Regions from separate parts of the Homo sapiens genome. Here regions 1 and 3 are each linked to region 2. The links are contacts of gene promoters, found by promoter capture Hi-C in blood cells and fetal thymus (Javierre and others, 2016). All regions are on one chromosome and are shown on one strand. The core of a region is centred on a gene start or on the middle of the fragment in contact, and the rest is flanking DNA. Distances in the headings are between cores, read along the strand shown. Region 1 holds the start of TIMMDC1 (translocase of inner mitochondrial membrane domain containing 1). Region 2 holds the start of WDR5B (WD repeat domain 5B). Region 3 overlaps COX17 (cytochrome c oxidase copper chaperone COX17).

Region 1 (3,509 bases), core at 42-2,541, 2.9 Mb before region 2:
AGATCTGAATTATTCAACAAATATTTACTGAGCACCTACTGCGGTTCTAGGTCCTGGAGATACAGAGATGAATATATTTGGTCTGTGATCTCAAGGATAGTTTATTGAGACAGATTAATAGGAAATTATGATGCAGTGTTGTAAGTGCTACGATGAGTGCTGAATCAAATCTCATATCCCAGAGTAGTCTTCATGGCGCTGTCACTAATTGAGCTGGTCACTCTAGTCAGTCACTTCTCAGGGACTTATGTGTAGCATTTCCAGCTATCAAATTCCTAAGTCCACTTACTGTATTCTACTACAGTGTGGCAGTTTTGATTGACAACTAGAAAGGAATCAAGGAGGTGAAGGGATTGGCAAAATGAATAAGGGAGTATGCTTGTTAACAAGGATTGAATGAAATTACACGAATATTGAGAATATTTTAAATGCATTCATTTTAATGAAAACTGTACTTCGAAGCATATGTTAGCAGAGGTTGTAGTGACGGCAAATTATACAAACACTTGATAGAAATTCCAGAAATTCTCCTGCCTTTTGAGAAGCAGTAGGCATATGAACTAAAGGGAGTGAAATCCACCTTAGGAAGACCTGCCAAAAAGCTGATTCTTCAAAAAAGTGTTCTCGAAATCTTAGTGTAACTGGCACCAACACCCATCCCCAATGCCTCGTTTTTTTTCCAGCAGAACTGACAAGGTACAAACGGACCCCGCCCAGCCTGGAAGGCTTCTCTAATGTTGGCAGAGTAGGTTGGACTTGTTTTTGCACAAATCGCCTTTCCCTCTTTCCCTACTCCACTTGCACTGAATATTGCACTTTCTTCCTTACTGAAGCGGGATTCCTGCCTTTTTTTTTTTTTTTTGAGACAGATTTTCGCTCTTGTTGCCCAGGCTGCAGTGCAGTGGTGTGATCTCGGCTCACTGCAACCTCCGCCTCCCGGGTTCAAGCGATTCTCCTACCTCAGCCTCCCGAGTAGCTAGGATTACAGGCGCCCGCCACCATGCCCGGCTAATTCCTGGCATTTTAAATACGATAAATTACTTCAACCTATGACCACCTCAAGCTGAATATAAGTAGCCGCAGACACCGTTTGCATGACCCAGGAACCACAAACACGGAGCGAAGGCCTGCCGGGACCACGCTGAGCTTCACTACTGGCAGCCAACTCACTTCCGGGGGTGCACTCAGCACAGCAGTGGCCCAACCCGCCCTCAACCGGAAGTCTTTTGGGCTCCGGCTTCGCCGTCGCCCCGCCCCCTGGCCTTTGCCCCGGTCGGGCGGGACTTCCTGTGTCGTATTTCCAAGGACTCCAAAGCGAGGCCGGGGACTGAAGGTGTGGGTGTCGAGCCCTCTGGCAGAGGGTTAACCTGGGTCAAATGCACGGATTCTCACCTCGTACAGTTACGCTCTCCCGCGGCACGTCCGCGAGGACTTGAAGTCCTGAGCGCTCAAGTTTGTCCGTAGGTCGAGAGAAGGCCATGGAGGTGCCGCCACCGGCACCGCGGAGCTTTCTCTGTAGAGCATTGTGCCTATTTCCCCGAGTCTTTGCTGCCGAAGCTGTGACTGCCGATTCGGAAGTCCTTGAGGAGCGTCAGAAGCGGCTTCCCTACGTCCCAGAGCCCTATTACCCGGAATCTGGATGGGACCGCCTCCGGGAGCTGTTTGGCAAAGAGTAAAAGTGCCTAGGGTGTGAAGTGGGGTAGGGGGCCGCGAAAGCGGTGTCCTGCAGCGTGGGCAGCCTGGGTCAGCCTTAGGACACCAAGGATGGTGTGCTTCATTTTTAGATTATATTTGAGGTTCTGATATTTGTAACCCAAGCTTGTATCTTTTTTCTTTCTTTTTTTTTTTTTTTTTTCCAGACAGGGTCTTGCTCTGTCGCCCAGGCTGGAGTGCTGTGGTGCTATCTCGGCTCACTGCAACCTCTGCCTCTGGGACTCAAGTGATCCTCCCACCTCAGCCTCCCGATTAATTGGGACTACAGGCGCGCACCACCACGCCCGGCTAATTTTTTTTTAATGTATTTTTTATAGACAGGGTTCTTACCATGTTGCCTAGGCTGGTCTTGAACTCTTGGACTTAGGCGATCCGCCTACCTCGGCCTCCCAAAGTGCTGGGATTACAGGCGTGAGCCACCGCGCCAGCCCAAACTCGTATTTTTCTTTCTTTTTTTTTTTTTTTTCGAGACTGAGTCGCGCTCTATCGCCCAGGCTGGAGTGCAGTGGTGCGATCTTGGCTCACTGCACTCTTCACTTCCCAGGTTCAAGCGGTTCTCCTGCCTCAGCCTCCAGAGTAGCTGGGATTACAGTTGCCCACTACCATGCCCAGCTAATTTTTGTATTTTTAGTAGAGACAGGATTTCACCATTCGCCAGGCTGGTCTGGAACTCCTGACCTCACGTGATCTGCCTGTTTCCGCCTCCCAAAGTGCTGGGATTACAGGCCTGAGCCACCGCGGCTGGACTGCGCCCGGCCTAGAAGGGCAATTATTTTATAGTAACTTAATACTTAAGACAGCTATTTGTTAGAGCAGTCTCAGGATGACATCTTGGAAGCTTCATTAGCAGTTCTAGCTTCTTATGCATTTGAGAGTAACAAATCGAATTAAATAGTAGTTTTTCCTTGTTATTTTAGATTGGCATGTGCCACCCACTGCATAGTGAACTTTCCCAGTGCGTTTTTAAAAAAACATTTATTTGTTTATTTTTAGAGCCAGGATCTTTGCTATGTTGCTATGCTGGATTTGAACTCGGGCTCAAGTCCTACCTCAGCCTCCTAAGTTAGCTGTGACTACAGGCGTGTGCTACTGTGCCCAGCCCAGTGCTTTTATTAGTACAGTCCTATCTGAGTATTTCATGAAATTATTTAGTAAAATAGAATTTAGATTTTTTGTCTTACATCCACGTTTTTATTCTTTCATACATTGCCCTAAAATCTCACGAGTTGGTGTGATTTCTAAAAGTTAACTTAAGATTTAAACGGAAATATTGGTCTCTCTATCCAACTCACAAATTCTTCCTATTTCTAGGGGTGTAATAGTCATCAAAAGCACCTTTTAAAAAACTTTTTATTGGAGTAGGAAATGCATTTCGAAAAATGTGCCTAAGTATACTGATGGATGAATTTTCACAAACTGAACATAGCTGTACCCAGCACTAAGAAAGAAATGGCAACTATTGTAACATCCCAAAAGCTCCCCTTGTGCCTTTTCCGGTCATTGTCTTTTCAGGAGTTGCCACTATCCTAATTCTAACACCATAGCTTCGTTTTGTCTGAGACTACGTTCCTTTTAATATAACTGAACTGTTTAATTCATCTGAGAATTCTACCTATGATGAAAAATGTTGTGGTGGTAGCATTTGGGTTAATTCTGATTATAGAGTCTCTTGGAGAGCAATGTCCATAAACTAATCCCAAACAACATTGTCTTTTTGATGTTGTAGTGAACAGCAGAGAATTTCAAAGGACCTTGCTAATATCTGTAAGACGGCAGCTACAGCAGGCATCATTGGC
Region 2 (3,323 bases), core at 473-2,972:
AAAAGATTGGTAGTCAGAAGCTGAATTCTAGATGTGCTTTTTCAACTATCTCATTTTGTAAATGTAGTGTATGAATCTCAAAATTTAACAATAGACAATTTTTAAAATACCAAACTGCCAAAATTAAAAGAAACCGTCTTTTTAAATATCCAAGTTTTTTGGCCAACTTGGCTCTACTACTTGATTTTCAAAGGGATTAGTGGTTACTCATCCACAGTTTAATTGTTTTGTCATTTTCTAATGCTGCTGATGCGATGAGGTTTTCTGTAGGATGACAAGCTGCTGAGATCACAACATCTGTATGGCCTTGTAATTTCTGCACAATCTCTTTAGTCTGAAGGTTCCAAATGTAAACCAGGTTATCCTCGGAACCAGACACAATCCACTTTCCACCAGTAACTGAAAAATTGGCAAATATGCAATATTTCTCATTCTTATGACCAGTGTATGTTTTCAGGCACCTGCCTCTGCTATAATCCCATAGTTTAAGAGTGTTGTCCAAAGTTGCAGTGAGAATGTATTTACCATTTGGAGAAAATTTTACAAAAGAGACAGGAGGGTTATCGTCATCAACGAGCGTTTTTAAACACTGACCTGATGCAGCATCCCAGATTCTACAGAGGCCATCATAGCTACCTGACACTATCAAGGACCCACTACAATTAAAATGAACAGCAGAAACTGGGTCAGAATGAGCAGACAAAGTCTTGAGACACTTTCCTGTTTTCACCTCCCATATTTTTACAGTCTCATCAAAAGATCCCGAGATTATAAGGTTGGATGGCGGATTGAAGTTACAACAAAAGACATAATTACTGTGCCCCTTCAGTGTTTTCAAACATTTTCCAGATCTCACATCCCATAATTTTAGAGTTTTATCATCTGAGGCAGAAACAAGACGACTGGAATCTGATGACCAGGCAACATCCGATATTTCCAAATTATGACCATAGAGTGTTTTCTCATATTTTCCATCATATGCTCCCCAAATTATGATTAGCCTATCAGCAGAAGAACTTGCTAGCCATTCTCCATTAGGACTAAACTTAACTGATGACACTGCTTCCGTGTGTCCCACAAGAGTACATTTGAGAGCATAGTTTGGGTTTTCAGGCACTTCCTTGCTCTGATTGGCCGATGAGGAGAGGGCCAACTGTGCTTTGGCGTCTCTTGACTCCTTGGTTGCCATGGCTCTGAAGCTCCAAGTTAGCAGGTGTACTAGGCGTTCAGCCCTGAACCAGGCAGTCCAGTACTTTGGCTTTCTGCCCAGCAAAATGAAGATAAACGCACAGGATTTTAAAATGTACAGTTTTGAAAGCTTAAAGTTTCTGGACAGTCTTTAAACTGTGAGACGGAATCAGCAGCACGGCTTGGACTTCAAGTTTTCATCTTTTTGTTAAGTACTTGAGAAATACTGTTAGAAGGATCCTGTGCGCTGTCAGCAAGTAGGACACAAATGTTCGGCATTCCGTTAATACATAAAGCCTTCAAAGCAGGGGCGACGCGAGGGGCACTCTCTACAGAAAGTATTCTTTCACCGCCGCCCCCCTCCCCAGGTCGAAATGTTTCGGAATGCTGAGCAGCCCTACCAGTCAGGCTAGGTACTTGAAGATGAATGAACCGCCGCTTTTAGCGGATTTCAGAAGCTAAAAGCCTACGAAGCCACCGAAACTGGAAACTCTGGCCTGTCGGCTACTTTTGCTCGTACCAGCAGGTGTGCACTGCCGCGTCAATCTCCAACAAAGCCGGAAAAGCAGCCTGGCGCATGTGCAAAGGAAGTCCCTCCTACCACTACCGAGCCGAGATGACCAATGGGAGACGGCCATCTGCGCCTGCGCAAAAAAGTCGCCAATGTTCATTTCCGGTCTTTTTCGCCCCGCCCTTCAAATGCGAAAGCGACTGCCTTCTTGGGTGAGTGCATTAGCTGGGTAGGGTCTGTCCCGGACCTAACTGGATAGTGTGGGAAGCAGTGGATCGTTGTTTCAAAAACCATTTCTTTTTGGAAATTGTCACAGAGAAGGACTAGATTTGCGGATGCCTACCTTAGCTGCAGGCTTAGGCCCACACCTGACGCGTAAGCTGCCTAAACGGCAGCTAACGTAGATCCACCCAGACGCCGGAAACGGGGGAAGCTCCTGCTTTGCATGGGTTCCGCTCCCTCCTGTTTGTTGTGGTGTGGAGCCAGGTGGCATGTGTGGCGATGGAGTCACGGGGCGGGTGACAGAATTTATGCCAGATTGTAAAATTCCTGGTTTAAGTTTCCCCTGGAAAAGTTTCGTAAAGGTTAAGAAACGTGTCTGTTGAGGTCCTTTAAAAGCCGGTGCTCTGCTGGGAGTAACGAGCAAACGTTTGTTTTAGCATCTACGGCTTAAGCTTCCATAGAGAAGTCGGTATCTCAAAGTTGCTTGAAACAGAAAAGGACAAAGAGGTTGGTGGAATAGGGTAACGGATAAGGTTACTCTTAAGGAGGTTTTAGAGAGCTTTCCCCAGTTTTAGGAGATGATTAATGGTCATGAAAGTGTGTAAAATATACATGCTATTGAAGTTGCAACGAAAGACATAATTACTGTGCCCCTTTAGTGTTTTCAAACATTTTCCAGATCTCACATCCTATAATTTTAGAGTTTTATCATCTGAGGCAGAAACAAGACGACTGGAATCTGATGACCAGGCAGACTTTTAAACAATAGGTTTACCAAAAAACTGGAAGCCCTACTAGTTTCTCCAACCTGTTGTTGCTCAGTAAAGAGTGCCCGAGGCCGAGCACTCACGCCTGTAATCCCAGCACTTTGGGAGGCCCAGTCGGGCGGGACACTTTAGGTCGGGTGTCCGAGACCAGCCTGACCAACATGGCGCAACCAATACTGCTAAAAATACAAAAATTAGCTGCGCGTGATGGCGCACGCCTGTAGTCCCAGCTACTCAGGAGGCTGAGGTGGGAGAATGGCATGAACCAGGAGGTGGAGGGTGCAGTAAGCTGAGATTCCACCAGTGCACTCCAGCCTGGGCAACAGTGAGACTCCGTCTCAAAAAAAAAAAAAAAAAGAGTGCCCAAGAAAAGCAGAAAAAACGTGGCTTAAAAGATTTTACTGGTGGCTGGTCACGATGCAAATGTCTCATCAGCGTCAAGAATTTAAAAGCACTTGGAAACAATGGGTATCCTATTGTATACTTATTAGGGATAATTGAAAGTCTTGGCCTTTATAAGGCACAACAGGCACCGTTAGGTCACCTGTAATAAACCGACTGTAGTTAAAATATCATTACTTTAAGACCCTACCAGTCTAGGGGGAAATTTAAATAAGAATTGGACAAATACTTTA
Region 3 (3,258 bases), core at 759-3,258, 2.7 Mb before region 2:
CTCTGCCCGGCTGCTGCCCCGTCTGGGAAGTGAGGAGCGCCTCTGCCCAGCTGCTGCCCCGTCTGGGATGTGAGGAGCGCCTCTGCCCAGCTGCCGCCCTGTCTGGGATGTGAGGAGCGCCTCTGCCTGGCCGCCCCACCGTCTGGGAAGTGTGGAGCGTCTCTGCCCAGCTGCCCACTGTCTGGGAAGTGAGGAGTGCCTCGGCCCGGCTTCTGCCCTGTCTGGGAAGTGAAGAGCACCACTGCCCGGCTGCCCCACGTCTGGGAAGTGAGGAGCACCTCTGCCCGGCCGCTGTGCAACCTTCCAAGTGTGAAGTGACAGCCTTGTGTGTGATCTTTTCTGTCTTCCCCAAGTTTGCATTTTTGACATTAAAGTTTACTTTTTAATTAAAAAAAAAATGGCCTGAGGCTTTAGTTTTATTCGAATAAAGCATGCTACAATTCCATTTTCATTTTTCAGAAAGCAATACTTCCGTGGGATACCCACTCCCTACTTAAAAGCATTTCTTGGCCAGGCATAGTGGCTCACACCTCTTAATCCCAGCACTTTGGGAGACCAAGGCAGGAGGATTGCCTGAGTCCAAGAGGTTGAGACCAGCCTGGGCAAGATGGTGAAACCCCATCTCTAAAAAACAACACAAAAAATTAGCCAGGCACGGTGGCCCACACCTGTAGTCCCAGTTACTTAGGAGGCTGAGGGGAGGATCACCTGAACCTCCCAGGTTGAGGCTGCAATGAGCTGTGATTGGGCCACTTCACCCCAGCCTGGGTAACAGAGTGAGACCCTGTCTCAAAAAAAAAAAAAAAAAAGCATTTACTGAAGTCCCACAATATTTATTAGAAACAAGAAAGAGAATATGTTTCTTTTAGTTCCCTCAGTCAATTTTCCTAAAGCCATGGGACCTAAAGGCTTTTGTCAAACCCTTTCTTAAAAGCTCAATTCTCCCCTTCCCCAATCCGCTAAATGACTGTCTTTACTGACATAATTTACTCCCTTCATTGGGAACTGAAAAATCATGGTTTTTTCAAATTGATACTTAAGCATTTTAGATTAACCAGGTGAACTACCTTTCAGAGAGAATGTAGCCCAATTGTTGCTAAATCTGTAAAGCAATACACAACTTTGAAGCAAGAAGCTTACCATTTCATATTTTAAATCCTAGGGCTCTCATGCATTCCTTGTGGGCCTCAATTAGATGTCCACAGTGTTCTTCTCCTTTCTCGATGATACTATAAAACAAAATGTACTTGTTATCTAAATATGCATTAAGCACATTATTAAGTATGCATGATAGTGATGGGGAGTGAGACAAAACACGGGTATAATGGAATGTAGCTGGAATTAAAACAAACGCTATTACCTCAAACAGCTTTGTTTTTATTTGATCTTATGATATGCCCATGCCTATGAAGACATTCCACAGATAAGTGATTTTGGGGGGGAAATCTGATAAGAAATAATCACGCATATTAAATATTGCCTCTAGTCAATATCCAAGGAGTAACACTGCTCTATAAAGAAATAAACTGAGTAAAATATTTATGCTAAATGAAGGGCACAGAGAACAGCTCAATTTTTTGCTTATTATCACAGAGAAATTAACTTTCTGATTTTGCCCTACATTCAAACACAACCAAATAAATCTACTTCTAATTACATCAAAAACATCTGGTAGCCAGGAGACCGAGATAAACACCCCCTCATGATGATCAAAGAATATTTTACTTGTAAAATTCACAAAGTAAAGACTAGGACTACACAGCTTTATTTCTAAGGCCTGAAAATGTGATTTTGCAAATAATCAAGTTAAGCCCAATTCAATTACAAGGAAAAACTGACTCCTGACTATGGATATTTGGGGAGAACCCACGTGGTCTGAGGCAATCGAGGCAAAGGGAATTTAACAAAGGGAATAGGTTCTCCTTCCATGGAAACTCTACCCATCCTTCAATAGCTCAAGAGCTGCCTGCAAATGGGAGATTGCCTGGGATAGTGAGATCATTGTGAAGATAATAGCTAGCATTCATTGATCATTTATTGCCATGTATACTGTGTTAGCCACTTGACATGGCTTGTATCATTAACCTTTACAATAATACTGGAGGGAGTTTCTTTTATTAGAGTCATTTTACAGACACATGAGGCTCAAGGTCACCAAGTTAGTGGATTAAGATTCAAACCTTGACTGTGGATCCCAGACTCTTAATCATGCTGTCATACCATTCAAGGTTCAACAGCACTTACTGTTACCACTGGAACAATTTGTTCAGACTAGTCTTTCAATCCTACCCGTATTATTTACAAAGTACTGAGGATTAATAAAAGCACTGAGCTCCTACACTCTTATTATCCCATTATACCACTAATGATTTCTTTCTTATATCTACTATCTGGGAAGACAAAAGGGGCCAGAGGAAGAGATGCACATTCACGTTATCTGAGGACGTCCTCTAATGAGATTTGCTCCACAAGAGAGGCTATATAAAATGAGAACAAATCTTTTGTGGATTGACAATCTAGATGAACTATTCTTAATACTTTGTCCCCTGCGTCGTAGACTGATTGATTTTCAACTTTTGGTTGTCTTAAAAGGGTTGAAGCGTAACTCTTCAGAACTGTAAGGAATACACTCTGTGTCCTACTGTCTCTAAATTTTGGGAGAAAGCCTTAGAAATTACCAGAAAACCTTTCCTGTTTGGTCTTAACAAATCTATCATAGCCCTTACCACGTCGTATACAAGTCACTGGTTTATGTCTCCATTAACTTTAAGCTCCTTTATATCAAGATGCATCTTTATCCATGTCTACATCTTCGGACCTAACGCAGTGCTTAACCCATAACAGATACTCAACACACATTTGTAGGAAGGAATGAGTGGTTGAAGCTTGCCGTTCTCCTCTCTCTCCATCGTTTCCCGGTACTAAGCTACGGGATAAGTCAACAGAGACCCGACCACGAAACCTACAAGGCCCAATAATTATCTCCAGAGCGCCGCAATGGGGCGGGGCGGGGCGGGGCGGGGGGGGGGGGCAGACAGGGAGGAGGAGTGGGGGAAGGGGGGAAGGAAGAGGGCAGAGGGCAGAAGGCAGAGGGCAGAGGGCAGAAGGCAGAGGGCAGAGGCCGTAGGGCAGAGGCACCGGAAGGCACAGGCCGCGGCCCGGGGCTCGTCGGCCGCGCCCTCTCCGGCTGCGCACTGACCACGCATCGCGCGCCTTCTTGGTCTCCGGGCAAGCGCAGCAGGGCTTCAGCGGCTTCTT

Evidence for each region. The method cuts DNA at HindIII sites, captures the fragments that hold promoters and counts their contacts. A CHiCAGO score of 5 or more calls a contact.
Region 1: the fragment with the promoter of TIMMDC1 here is called in contact with the fragment with the promoter of WDR5B in region 2 in 6 of 17 cell types (non-activated CD4 T cells, total CD8 T cells, naive CD8 T cells and 3 more); the score reaches 7.8 in non-activated CD4 T cells.
Region 3: a fragment that was not itself captured here is called in contact with the fragment with the promoter of WDR5B in region 2 in 1 of 17 cell types (total CD8 T cells); the score reaches 5.5 in total CD8 T cells.

What each region holds. Positions count from the first base shown.
Region 1 is chr3:119,497,256-119,500,764 of GRCh38, forward strand. It overlaps TIMMDC1 (translocase of inner mitochondrial membrane domain containing 1), which reads left to right and starts at 1,292. Exons shown (of 7, transcript NM_016589.4): 1 at 1,292-1,672; 2 at 3,440-3,509. The coding sequence starts at 1,479. RefSeq lists an enhancer at 1,032-1,081. The HindIII fragment of the contact is 2,873 bases long and covers 1-1,816 here.
Region 2 is chr3:122,414,340-122,417,662 of GRCh38, forward strand. WDR5B (WD repeat domain 5B) reads right to left here and starts at 1,723. Exons shown (of 1, transcript NM_019069.4): 1 at 1-1,723. The coding sequence starts at 1,189. The coding sequence ends at 197. WDR5B-DT (WDR5B divergent transcript) reads left to right here and starts at 1,867. Exons shown (of 3, transcript NR_125405.1): 1 at 1,867-1,911. RefSeq lists enhancers at 1,268-1,467, 1,703-2,520, 1,738-1,977, 2,008-2,057, 2,218-2,417 and 1 more. The HindIII fragment of the contact is 1,055 bases long and covers 1,317-2,371 here.
Region 3 is chr3:119,674,005-119,677,262 of GRCh38, forward strand. COX17 (cytochrome c oxidase copper chaperone COX17) reads right to left here. Exons shown (of 3, transcript NM_005694.2): 1 at 3,200-3,258; 2 at 1,141-1,229. The coding sequence ends at 1,145. Among named protein-coding and RNA genes, the nearest start is that of COX17, 1.8 kb to the right of the region's middle. The HindIII fragment of the contact is 1,750 bases long and covers 1,134-2,883 here.